Regions from separate parts of the Homo sapiens genome. Here regions 1, 2 and 4 are each linked to region 3. The links are contacts of gene promoters, found by promoter capture Hi-C in blood cells and fetal thymus (Javierre and others, 2016). All regions are on one chromosome and are shown on one strand. The core of a region is centred on a gene start or on the middle of the fragment in contact, and the rest is flanking DNA. Distances in the headings are between cores, read along the strand shown. Region 1 has its middle 28 kb from the start of CHST14. Region 2 holds the start of BUB1B (BUB1 mitotic checkpoint serine/threonine kinase B). Region 3 holds the start of PLCB2 (phospholipase C beta 2). Region 4 overlaps BMF (Bcl2 modifying factor).

Region 1 (3,009 bases), core at 488-2,987, 190 kb after region 3:
CGTGCCACTGCACTCCAGCCTGGGCGACAGAGTGAGACTCCGTCTCAAAAAAAAAAAAAAAAAAAAAAATCCTGAATGTCACAGGTGTTACTGCACTTCTGACTCAGTGCTGTTGAAAATGTCCCCCAGGAGACTGCCACTTGTTTCAAGGGACTATGAGCCATGTTACCTCCCAATTCTGGACATTTTCTAAGCTGTAACATCATGTTTTCGTAATCTGACAACCTGCAGCTCAGTTAATGACATAAAACAATTCCATGATCTCTAAGACAAGCCCCCAGCACATTGAAGTCACTGGATGAGACCTCAGCACCATGGGCCCCTCCTCTCCACTGGGCTGACTCTGCCAACTCACTCTCACCTGAAACTGCCCTTGCTGCTCCTGCCTCTGCCATGTCTACCACTCTGTATAGCTGCCCTTTTCTTACTGCTGTGGCCTCTGGCTGCCAAAAAGAGACAGGGCCACTACCCTGGCCCTCATGACATTCAACTGCAGCTGCCATCTCTGCTAATGTGAGAGGAGGGATGGTTTCTCCACTGACATCAAGCCCAGCTCTCTTGAGTCTGGGCCAGACCTTGAATAGTCTGGCTTGTGAACGAGACACCAGCTAGTTCTTCCAGATGGTGTTCATGTGGCCCAGCGCTCTCCTACCTTAGGACGAGTTCCTGCCCACCCAGCTTGCTTCTCTCAGAAGTTTGGGGCAGCATTTTTCTACCTTTCTTATTTAGGATCCCAACCTTTTTTTTGAGACGGAGTCTCGCTCTGTCACCCAGGCTGGAGTGCAGTGGTGTGATCTCGGCTCACTGGAACTTCCACATCCCAGGTTGAAGTGATTCTCCTGCCTCAGCCTCACAAGTAGCTGGGACTTCAGGGGTGTGCTACCACACCTGGCTAATTTTTGTATTTCCAGTAGAGACGGGGTTTCACCATGTTGGCCAGGCTGGTCTCGAACTCCTGACCTCAGGTGATCCACCCGCCTTGGCCTCCCAAAATGCTGGGATTACAGGCGTGAGCCACTGCGCCTGGCCCCCAGAGCCCAACCTTGAATCCCAGCATCCTCTCTGCCATTTCCCAAGACACCCAGTGGGCCTCTGGATAAAAGACGTTTTTGATAGAGAGTTCTGTTATCCCAGACCCCGAGGTGACCCTAGCATAATCCCTGGACACTCCCCTATGCTGAGGCTTCTCCCCTAGACCCCCATTCTATTACATAGTCTGTGCCCCCTCAGCTCAGTCATTACTTTTCTGGGCAGCCTCCTTTGACCTGCAGACCAGATCAGATCTCTGTGGTTTGCTCCCTGATCACTGTGTCCTTCTCCTCTGTAGCTCTTACCACAGCTTGTAATTCTATATTTGATGCATGTCTATATCCCCCTCTATAAGGTGAGGTCATCAAAGGCAGCAGTTCTGTCTTTCTTGCCTACCACTGCATCTCCAGCATGCTGCTCATCTGGTCCGTGGTAGGGTTCAGTATTTGTTGAAGGAGTGAATGAACTATGATTCACTTCATTACGTGTCGGTCTTTTAAAAACATTTATCTTCAATACACCCGTTTCTCTGTGATGGCAAGTAAAACATTTTTGGAGGCAGTCACTAACCAGCATGCATTGCATGTGTGAGCACCACAATATTTTTATACTTGTGGGTTCGATAATCCAACCACATGCTTTATTAAAGTATTTCTTTCAGGGTTGTAAAAAACACTTCATTACTGGCTTGCGGGCAACCTGGCTCTGGGGGAAAAGGGTCGTGTTACCACACTGCAGATAGGTGAGGATACCAGTGCCAGGCAGGGAGGAGGCTGTGAGGATGCCCAGCCCCTGCTTAGGGATACTGCTTCCCCCCCTTCACTTTTGCAGATTGCAGAGGGCTTGAAGAAGGGATGCAGGCAGTTTGAGCACTGAGTGGCACGTATTCCTGCAATCCCCAAAGTCATGAGGGGGCTCTTTGGAGGGGGTCTCAGAATTGGACTGTATGGTTTGATTTCACGTATTTCTGGGTTTGCTTTGTAGTTTGTCAAGTCATCATACTGTATGCTACTGGCAGATGATAATATGTTAACCAAAAACGACAACAAAGCAGTTGTGATGCGAAGGATGAGGCTAGACTTGGAGTCAGAACCATCATCCAGTACATTGGTTCTTGGCACATAGTGAGAAAGAACCCTTGTGGAATGGAAGGAGAAGCTCCTGGGAAGCAGCGTGTGAAGGTGGAAAGGGTCTTGTTGCCAAGGCAATAACCATTCACTTCCATGGAGCACTGGCCAGGGGCAGGTGCTGTGCTGAGCACTTTGCATGCATGATCCCATTTAACCCCACAGTAATCTATGAGGTTTTTTTTTTTCTTTCTCTTTTTTCTTTTTTAGAGACAGGGTCTTTGTCACCCAAGCTGGAATGCAGTGGTGTGATGATAGCTCATGTGGTCTCAAACTCCTGGGCTCAAATCATCCTCCCACCTCAGCCTCCCGAGTAACTGGGACTACACGTGTATGTCATCATGTCCAGCTAAGTTTTTTGTTTTTTGGGGTTTTTTTCTGAGACAGAGTCTTACTCTGTCACCCAGGCTGGAGTGAAGTGGTGTGATCTCGGCTCACTGCAACCTCTACCTTCTGGGTTCAAGCAATTCTCCTGTCTCAGCCTCACAAAAAGCTGGAATTACAGGCGTGCACCATCACACCTGGCTAATTTTTAAATTTTTAGTAGAGACGGGGTTTCACCATGTTGGCCAGGCTGGTCTCCAACTCCTGACCTCAGGTGATCCGCCCATCTCAGCCTCCCAAAGTGCTGGGATTACAGGCGTGAGCCACCGCGCCCAGCCTTTTTTTAAAAATTATTGTAGAGACAGGTCTTGCTATGTTGCCCAGGCCGGTCTCAAACTCCTGGGCACAAGTGATTCTCCTGCTTCAGCCTTCTGAGTCCCTGGGATTACAGATGAGAACCACTCACCTGGCCAATTAGGGTTCTTATCAACATTTTCCATAATGAAACCATGTGTCAGAGTGAAAAAAT
Region 2 (2,788 bases), core at 222-2,721, 150 kb before region 3:
AAAATTTCCTATGAGGAATCACCCCTTCCCCTCTCTCAGTCCCAAGGTGAAACACATGACTTGGTTCTGAACAATCAAAGCCCTGAATCCACTATCCCCAGTGACTGTTTGGGAGGAAGGGGTTAAGCAGGGTGACTCCTAAGTCTGAATTTGAACCTGTAAGGATAAAGTCGTGAATCTGTTACCCAATGGAGAATGACAATAAGCCAACAACAAGAGTAGAGGCGAGAAATGGAGAGAGGCCCAGTCCACATGAGTCCTGGGTTAAGCTTTATCTGAAGTCTTTTATATATAAAAGACAGTAAATTCCCTTTTCTGAGTAGGCCGATTTAAGTTGGATTTCTACTTCTTTGGAATCAAGAGTCCTGATGATTCAGAGGAAAGAAGGACTTATATAACATGAACAAAGACAGAAAGCTGGGAACTAAGAACCAGAGGGTAGTGGACAGTATCCTCAGCATCTGCCTCTGGGAAGTGCCACCTCTCTGACCATCCCCACAGTCATAAAGGAGAACTCCCCTGTACCTGGGCTTTCTTAAATGACCCTGTTCCTTCCTCAAGGTGGCTAATGCCTGTAATCGCAGCTACTGCGGAGGCTGAGGTGGGAGGATCACTTGACCCCGGGAGTTGGAGGCTGGAATGCAGTAGCCCCATGATGGGGCTACTGCACTCCAGCCTGGGCAACAGAGCAAGAAGAAGACCCTGTCTCTAAAACAAAACCAACCAACCAAACAAACAAAAAGACTCTACTCCCCTGGTCACATCTGAGCTATCACAATTTCTTCCTCAGAAAATTGAAATTGCAACAAACAGTTTAATGTCAGTCAAGGCTAGTCCCCTGAAGGGGAAAAGAGGTAACACCTTGGGAACCATAGCATGGCTGTGTTTACTGCTTGTGGACTGAGCAGAAGAGAAAGCAAGACAGTATCATCACTTTATAGATGAGGAAAACTGATGGTCAGAAAGATTATGTAGCTTGCCTAAGGTTGCACATTTGGTATGATTTTACAGAACTAGAATCCAGCTTTTTGAATTCAAGGGTGGGGCAGGAAACAGCTAGGTCAGTGGCCTAAGAACTCCGGACGGGTGAGATTTGGGGCAGACAGCAGGGGTAGTCACCCTACAAGAGTCACGCCAAGTGCAAGCACTCAGAGACATCTCCCAACACTCAAAACAGCAAAGAAGTTCTGGTGCTTTAAGTGTTCCTCGCTCGGCTCAGAGACTCGGCTTCGAGCCGCGACTCAAGACAGCACCTGGGGGTATTTGTTTTGCCTAAGCCTGCTGCACTTCCACGGCCATTGAATCCCAAAAACTACAATTCCCATTATGCACCGCGAGTTCGCGGACTAAACAGGCATAAACTACAAGCCCCAGAATGCCTTGGGCGAGACGCGAGAGCACGGAGGAGCGGAGGGGCGTGGCCACGTCGACCGCGCGGGACCGTTAAATTTGAAACTTGGCGGCTAGGGGTGTGGGCTTGAGGTGGCCGGTTTGTTAGGGAGTCGTGTACGTGCCTTGGTCGCTTCTGTAGCTCCGAGGGCAGGTTGCGGAAGAAAGCCCAGGCGGTCTGTGGCCCAGAGGAAAGGCCTGCAGCAGGACGAGGACCTGAGCCAGGAATGCAGGATGGCGGCGGTGAAGAAGGAAGGGGGTGCTCTGAGGTAGGTACGGGAGAAAGCTGCTGGGGGCTGGGCCTGAGAGGACACGGCCTGGTAGGTAATAGAAGGCTCCGCTCGGAGCAGTCGAGGGGGAGATCGGCACCGTCAGAACAGACCCCACCGGAGCCTCCTTCCTTTTGGAGTAGAATGCCGGAGGTGGAGGTGAAAACGCAGTGGACTGAGGGCACGTGCGAATCCTGCCGCATCCAGCTTCAAAGCGAAGAAGGCTGCGGGACCCCAGCGGAACAAAGAGTTTGGAAGTTGCAATGTTGTCTGTTTGTAACTCAGCTCAGCCACCTGCTAGTTGTTTGACCTTGGGCAAATCGTTTGTATGGAAAATGCTGATGTTAATGCTGCCTTACGTGGTTCTGGGGGAATTCAAAGTATTTGTTAAGTAACTGCTTCCAAATAAGCGCTCAACAAATGGCAGGTGCTATGCCAATAGCACAGAGATCTGAAAGCCTTTAGCCAATATCATAGAGATCTAAATTATGCCAATAACATAGAGATCTAAAAGCCTTTTTCTGCATGTTTGCGGCTTTTCCTTGTATTAAAAAAACTATATTGCAGTTCTAGGTTGGAAATCTGTATGTGTTTTCACTGTGGTGCCCGCAATACCTAGATAAGTGCTATGTCATGGGCTCTTTCATTCATGTAACAAGTATTTTTTTGGCTAAGCTCTGAGTGCAGCAAATATACAGACACAAAAATCTCAACCCTCATGAAGCTTAAGTTCTGGCATGGGATGAAGGTGGGGGAGTCAGACAATAAAGACAAACTGTTAGGTGGAGATGTGGTCAGTACTAAAAAAAATAATAAAGCAACTGGGTGTAGTGAATATTGGGGGTGGGGATTGGTGCAATTTAACTTGAACACTGGAGTCTCACTGAGGAGATGTCACTTTGGTCAAGACTTGAAGGAATCTCAAAAGCTAGAGGTTCTATATCTGAGGAGAGTACAAAGGCTGAGGGTGAGAGCTAGGGGAGGAAGTTGCACCTGGCATGTCCAAGGCCATTGTCACTGGAGCAGAATTAACTAGAAGAGTAAAAGGATATTATGTAAAAATGGTGAAGATGCAGATTGTAAGGACTTAGCTTTTACTCTAGTTGTAATCAAAAGTCATTGGAAGGTTT
Region 3 (2,700 bases), core at 35-2,534:
GCCCAGCCCCGAAGGGCCTAGACCCAGACCCCCTCATCCCACCTCCCATCAGGTGGACAAGTCAGCACTAAGGGCTGTCTTCCCTCCCCCACCAAGCCTTCATTTCCCTTCCTGGGACAAGCCCAGCACTCTAACTCTCAGACTGGGCGAGCCCAGCAGCCTCCCCTCCCTGAAGGAGAATCTCCATATTGTTCTCTCCAGCCTAAGAGAATCCCTGGCCTAAGGTAACATTTTCAGGGGCCAGGAGAACCAGAGCCTGGGAGCAGCCCCGTGTAGGAAGGAACAGACACAGCAGAGAGAGGGCTGCAGGGTGCAGCAGTGTCTTCCCCTTCCCTTGCTGACAGGCCTGCATCGGGGAGCAATGCTGAGCCCAGCAAGGGGTAGCAGAAGTCAAATCAGCTCCTTCCCTGGGAGCAGAAGCCTCTAGTTCTCACTTAGGTCCAGGGGCCTTTTGTGGCTGCCCCCACAGCAGCGCAGGGGAGAGCAAGGCTTCCCTGGACAGGATGATGCCCAGTGGAGGGGGTGAAGGAGCTGGGTCTGAGCGCCCTGCCGGAGCAAGGGCAAGACATCTGTGCTGGGAGCGGGGACGAGCTCACCTCTCCTCCTAGCCTGCCTCAGCTCTGGGGTGCACTTTCCTCCTCTTCTCTTGGGGGTTTGAAGGAGAAGAGAAGCAGACCCAAATAAACTACCTCCAGTGACCACCCAGGCAGCTCACCCACTTCTCACACCTAGAACCAAGGCTTAGCCCTTTAGCTGGGGACATACACCCTTAATCCCAGGTTTGTTTATCCAAGCAGTGGTGTCAGCTGCCTGGCCAAACCACACAGGCGCCTGGATCCTAGGAGACATAAACCAATCCTCCCACCCAAGCAAAGCCCCGTAGCAGCCCGGCCCCCACCACCTGGTGCTCCAGCAGCTGAGGCCCCTGCCCCACTTACATCATCCCATTTGATGAAGCGCTCCCCTTGGCTCAGATAGGCCTTCACCTTGGGGGGCAGCAGGACAGGGTTGAGCAGAGACATGGTGCCAAGCGTTCCTCTTTGCAGAATCTCAGCAGACACAGGCAGGCAGAAGGGCAGGAAGGAGGCCAGCCAGGAGGGGGAGCCAAGCTGGGCTCAAATGGCACCCATCCCCGAGCTGCTCCAGAAATCTAGTTGCTCTTATAGCCCCTGGGGTGGCCCTGGCTGAGTGCAGGACTGAGCTGTAGCCAGAGGCCCATCTGCCTTGTAAATCACCCTCCTCCCACCCGCCCTGCCTGCCATGGGGGCCTGTGGTCACTGCTTCTGCCCAAGGAGGCTGAAGCAGGAAGCCCCCGCCTCTTCTGGAGGCCCCCGCCCCCACCCCCAGCCCCACCCTGTGCCTCTCAGCACTTCCTGCTCTGGGCTTCCTTCTCTGCGCTGCTCACAGCGGAGACGTGGTCATGAGGCCGGGTCGCCTTGGAGCCAGGGCCTCTCAGTCCCTGTGGTGGTCTCTGGTCAGATTTGGCCCAGGAGGGCTGGAGAAGGACGACATGGAGACCAGCTGGGGAGACTGCTGCCCAGGCCTGGACTGAGGGAAGGCACAGGGAGCTCACTAGGAGAAAGGACCTCCTCAGGGGAAGGGTCCAGAGCATGGGCATCTGACCCCAAAGGTTGGGAGCACCGTAGAGGCAGGGGTGGGGTGGGGACAGGGCCCAGCTGGAATGGAGTGTTTTGAATAAGCAAAGTTTGCTGAACACACGGCTCCTCTTTCTCAATGCTTCCTCCCCCATGAAAATGAGGTGCACCTGCCGGGCGGGCGGGTGCGGTGGCTCACGCCTGTAATCCTAGCACTTTGGGAGGCCGAGGCGGGCGGATCACGAGGTCAGGAGATCGAGACCATCCTGGCTAACACGGTGAAACCCTGTCTCTACTAAAAATGCAAAAAATTAGCTGGGCGTGGCAGCGGCGCCTGTAGTCCCAGCTACTCGGGAGGCTGAGGCAGGAGAATGGCATGAACCCAGGAGGCGGAGCTTGCAATGAGCCGAGATGGCGCCACTGCACTCCAGCCTGGGCGACAGAGCAAGACTCCATCTCGAAAAAAATAAAAAAAGAAAGAAAATGAGGGGCACATGAGGCAAGGCAATCACTCCCCTCACCCACCTCACCAGACTCCCACCTCTGGGCCTCTGGGACTGCCTGAGGCCTGGACCCCCACTGAGCAGCCCTAGCCCCTGCCTCCACTGCGCTCTCCTCTCTCCTCCGTGTGCCCGCCTCTGCTGTGTACCCCAGCCTGCAGCGGGGCTGGGGCGGAGGGATGGCTGCTCTGGTTGGCCAGGCTCAGCCCCAGCTGCTCAGGTGCCTGACCCACACTCTGCCCCAGGCCCAGGGAGTTCAGCACCAGTCCAGCTCAGCCCAGCCCACTTCCTCTTGCCTAATCTGCTCCTCTTATCGCCCTTCTTAGCCCAGCCTGGGAGGCAGGGAGCTCTACCCAAGACTTCCTTCCCCTCTGGGGCCTGGCCTTTTGCCCTGGGTCACCCCCCCATGGGGCTTTGCATACCCCCAACAACGGTAAGACCCTCACCCAGGCCCTAGAATTGTCGCGGCTGGAGGTCTGGTCCAGGGCAGGGTGGAGGGTGAGGGAGGACACTCTTCATGCGGAATTAAGATAATAAACTGCCCAGTGGAGGCTGGAGCTAAGGGAATTCCCAGCACAGAAATAATCTGCAGAAGAGCAATTCTA
Region 4 (2,774 bases), core at 172-2,671, 210 kb before region 3:
CCAGGAATGAGTGTACTTGGCCTCTGACCCTCAGGCACCCGGCACAGCACCCAGCGCACAATCTGAGATCAACAAGGGCAGATCCCCAGAACCAGGCCTGCCCTCCTAGACTCAGCTAGGGAACCCCTCACAGAATGGGAGTTCCCAGAATACACAGTCAGGGTGACCCAAGGGTCGGGGCTGGGATACAGAGGAGGGGAAGCTCACCCTAGAGCCCTCGGACTCACATGGTTTAGAAGGCAGGGCCAAGGAATGGAGGGAATGAATAGAGGTGAATGCCCCCAGGGAAGGTGCCCTAACATGGTAGATCACGGTGTTCTCTTCAATGAAGAGAGCACAAGCAGGCATCAGAGCCCCATGCGGCTTCTTTGGCCCAGCCTCATTTTCTTGCCACGGACAGGGGATGAAGGCAGTCAGCTGACAAATGTTTCAATCCCTACTGTGTGCAACACCCTATGCCTGAATGCACAGCTGCTCATCCTGTGTAATGGGGAACATGGAAGGCATACAGTAGGCACTCAACAAGGGCATGCTGGACCGACTACAGAGGAGTCAGCCCTGAAAGATAACCCACTTGTCTGAGGCCAGGAACAACTGATGTCTGGCCAGGTCTAAAGATGTACTTTATGTGATAGTATCAGCCTCACACCTGGGGAGAGGCCCAACTAGTAAAAGGCCTCCTTTTTTTTTTTTTTTTTTTTTTTTCTCTAAAGAGCTGGCTGTGGTGTCTGACAAGGTTGGATTACATAAATCAAACTCTGTTTCATCCCACACAGCCTCTGCCCTAAGCACAAAGCGTGTTCCCTACGCTCCCTGGATAAGAATCTCCCTCTGCCTCTCCCCTTTTCAGATCCAATTCATACCCTCTGGGGGCTCTGTGTGTCACCAGTGTTCCAGATGCTCCAGCTAGAGCTAATTCACCCCAAAGTATCAGAGGAAGAAGCAAAGCGAAGCCGTGTGCAGCTCTAAAAGAACCTAACTCACAAAATGCAAATTTACCAAACAGAGAGCAACTTATAATATCTCAGATACAGAACAGAGCACTTTCCTTTCTTCTCATGTGATCCTCACGATAGGAAGAGCAGGTATTAATCAACCCATTTTAGAGCGACGGAAACAATGGCTCAGAAAAGTCATCCCAAGTTAGTTGGGAGGGGTGTAATTTGAGGCCCTGACTTCTGACTCCAAAGCTATGTTCCTTCACTAAAATTTTACAGTGTGTTTATTGACATTATGAAAATAGCATTACCTTTTTCAAAGCAAATCACCACTGATCTGCTCCCCTAGTATGCTTAAAGACATTGTTTCCAGATCATTAACTATTTAGTAAGGACGCTGTGGACCAGAAAAAAATAACCCTTTCAGAGGCAGAGCTAACTGAAGATCAAACAGAAATAAAGCTAAAACTGGTCTGAAATTATAACTTCAGACTGTGATCTGAAACCACACTCAATCTCTTCAAAATGCAGAATTGTCTATACTCTAGGGGAAGGTGCACAGTCCACGATGTGAAGTTTTCCTCCCTCTTCCCTTTTCCCTGTCATTCTCTAAACCTACTCAGGCCAAGGCTGAAAGAAAGAGCCTTGCAATTAAGAACAGGAACATTGAGAGCAGGAAAATTCCTGCTTGAAGGAAGCTAGGAAGATGTTTTCTGTTGAAATAAGGACATTTTAATGAAGCACCCAACTGAGCTATCAAGCACCCAACTGAGCTACCAAGCACCCAACTGAGCTACCAAGCACCCAACTGAGCTACCAAGCACCTAACTGAGCTACCAAACACCTGAGCTACCAAGCACCCAACTGAGCTACCAAGCACCTAACTGAGCTACCAAGCACCCAACTGAGCTACTAAGCACCCAACTGAGCTAAGAGTTATGTGGATACAAAGATGATTAAAATATTATAAACTTGGTTCTCAATTGTTTTACAATATAATGGGGAGAAGAGCAAGAGCACCTAGCTGAGTATCACATGAGGCAGAGCGGGTTGGGGCAGCAAATGTGTGCTTCCTTGTACCCTTGTTTTCCGGAATGTGATTGCTGGGCAGCAGGTATGGGGCGATTGGACCATGGTTCCAGAATCCATCAAATCTGTATGACGCCTAGCTCAGCAAATTACGGTGTGACTTGGACATGTTACCTCACTTCTCTGAGCCTCAGTTTCCTATAACACAGTGGCAATGGAGTCTAAAAGTCCAAGGTTGCTGTGGTGATTACGTAAGAAAAATATACATGAAGCACTGGGCCTGGGGGCTGCAAGGAGCAGGCTCCTCCTTCCCTGGGGAGCACAAGGAAAACCTGGGACTCACTGGCTTTGCAGAGCACGTCTCTCAATATGCTCTGCAACAGGGCCGGCCTGGGGAGCACCATCTTCCCGGCAGACTCACGAAATCCCTGGGAGATCCCTGACTTTCTGCTTTGAGACTGCCCACAGCAGCCACAGGCCATGGGGCTCAGGATTCTAGGCTGCCAGGGTAAGCCAAGGATTCTGAAACCCAGAGGGCAACCCCTTGGACCCAGTGGGCCCACTGCCTCAGACTGCTTCTGACCCAGAGGCCCGAGGAACGAGCAACGTGGCAAAACGGAAAAGGAAAAAAAAGACTCCTTGCCAAGAGCTTCCTCAGCCCAGCCAGCAGTGTTAACAGGACATTGAAGCCACCATGGCCACGCCCATTGCTTCTCTAAGGAAAAAAGAGCAGTCCGAAGCCAGCCAGCTCTCAGTGGAAGATGGCAAGGCTTCCTCTAACGCAACTGGAAGACACTGGCTCCAGCC

The links. The method cuts DNA at HindIII sites, captures the fragments that hold promoters and counts their contacts. A CHiCAGO score of 5 or more calls a contact.
Region 1: a contact is called between a fragment that was not itself captured here and the fragment with the promoter of PLCB2 in region 3, in 1 of 17 cell types (M2 macrophages). The highest score is 5.2, in M2 macrophages.
Region 2: the fragment with the promoter of BUB1B here is called in contact with the fragment with the promoter of PLCB2 in region 3 in 1 of 17 cell types (naive CD8 T cells); the score reaches 5.2 in naive CD8 T cells.
Region 4: a contact is called between a fragment that was not itself captured here and the fragment with the promoter of PLCB2 in region 3, in 2 of 17 cell types (M2 macrophages and M0 macrophages). The highest score is 6.4, in M2 macrophages.

The regions. Positions count from the first base shown.
Region 1 is chr15:40,497,130-40,500,138 of GRCh38, forward strand. No RefSeq gene overlaps it. Among named protein-coding and RNA genes, the nearest start is that of CHST14, 28 kb to the left of the region's middle. The HindIII fragment of the contact is 5,436 bases long and covers 1-3,009 here.
Region 2 is chr15:40,159,598-40,162,385 of GRCh38, forward strand. BUB1B (BUB1 mitotic checkpoint serine/threonine kinase B) reads left to right here and starts at 1,472. Exons shown (of 23, transcript NM_001211.6): 1 at 1,472-1,658. The coding sequence starts at 1,624. RefSeq lists enhancers at 1,606-1,705, 1,726-1,855, 1,863-2,627. The HindIII fragment of the contact is 2,113 bases long and covers 268-2,380 here.
Region 3 is chr15:40,306,651-40,309,350 of GRCh38, forward strand. It overlaps PLCB2 (phospholipase C beta 2), which reads right to left and starts at 1,285. Exons shown (of 32, transcript NM_004573.3): 1 at 939-1,285. The coding sequence starts at 1,022. The HindIII fragment of the contact is 15,701 bases long and covers 1-2,700 here.
Region 4 is chr15:40,095,473-40,098,246 of GRCh38, forward strand. All of the region lies in intron 4 of BMF (Bcl2 modifying factor), which reads right to left. Among named protein-coding and RNA genes, the nearest start is that of BMF, 12 kb to the right of the region's middle. RefSeq lists enhancers at 1,231-1,280, 1,954-2,467 and a silencer at 2,664-2,713. The HindIII fragment of the contact is 9,484 bases long and covers 1-2,774 here.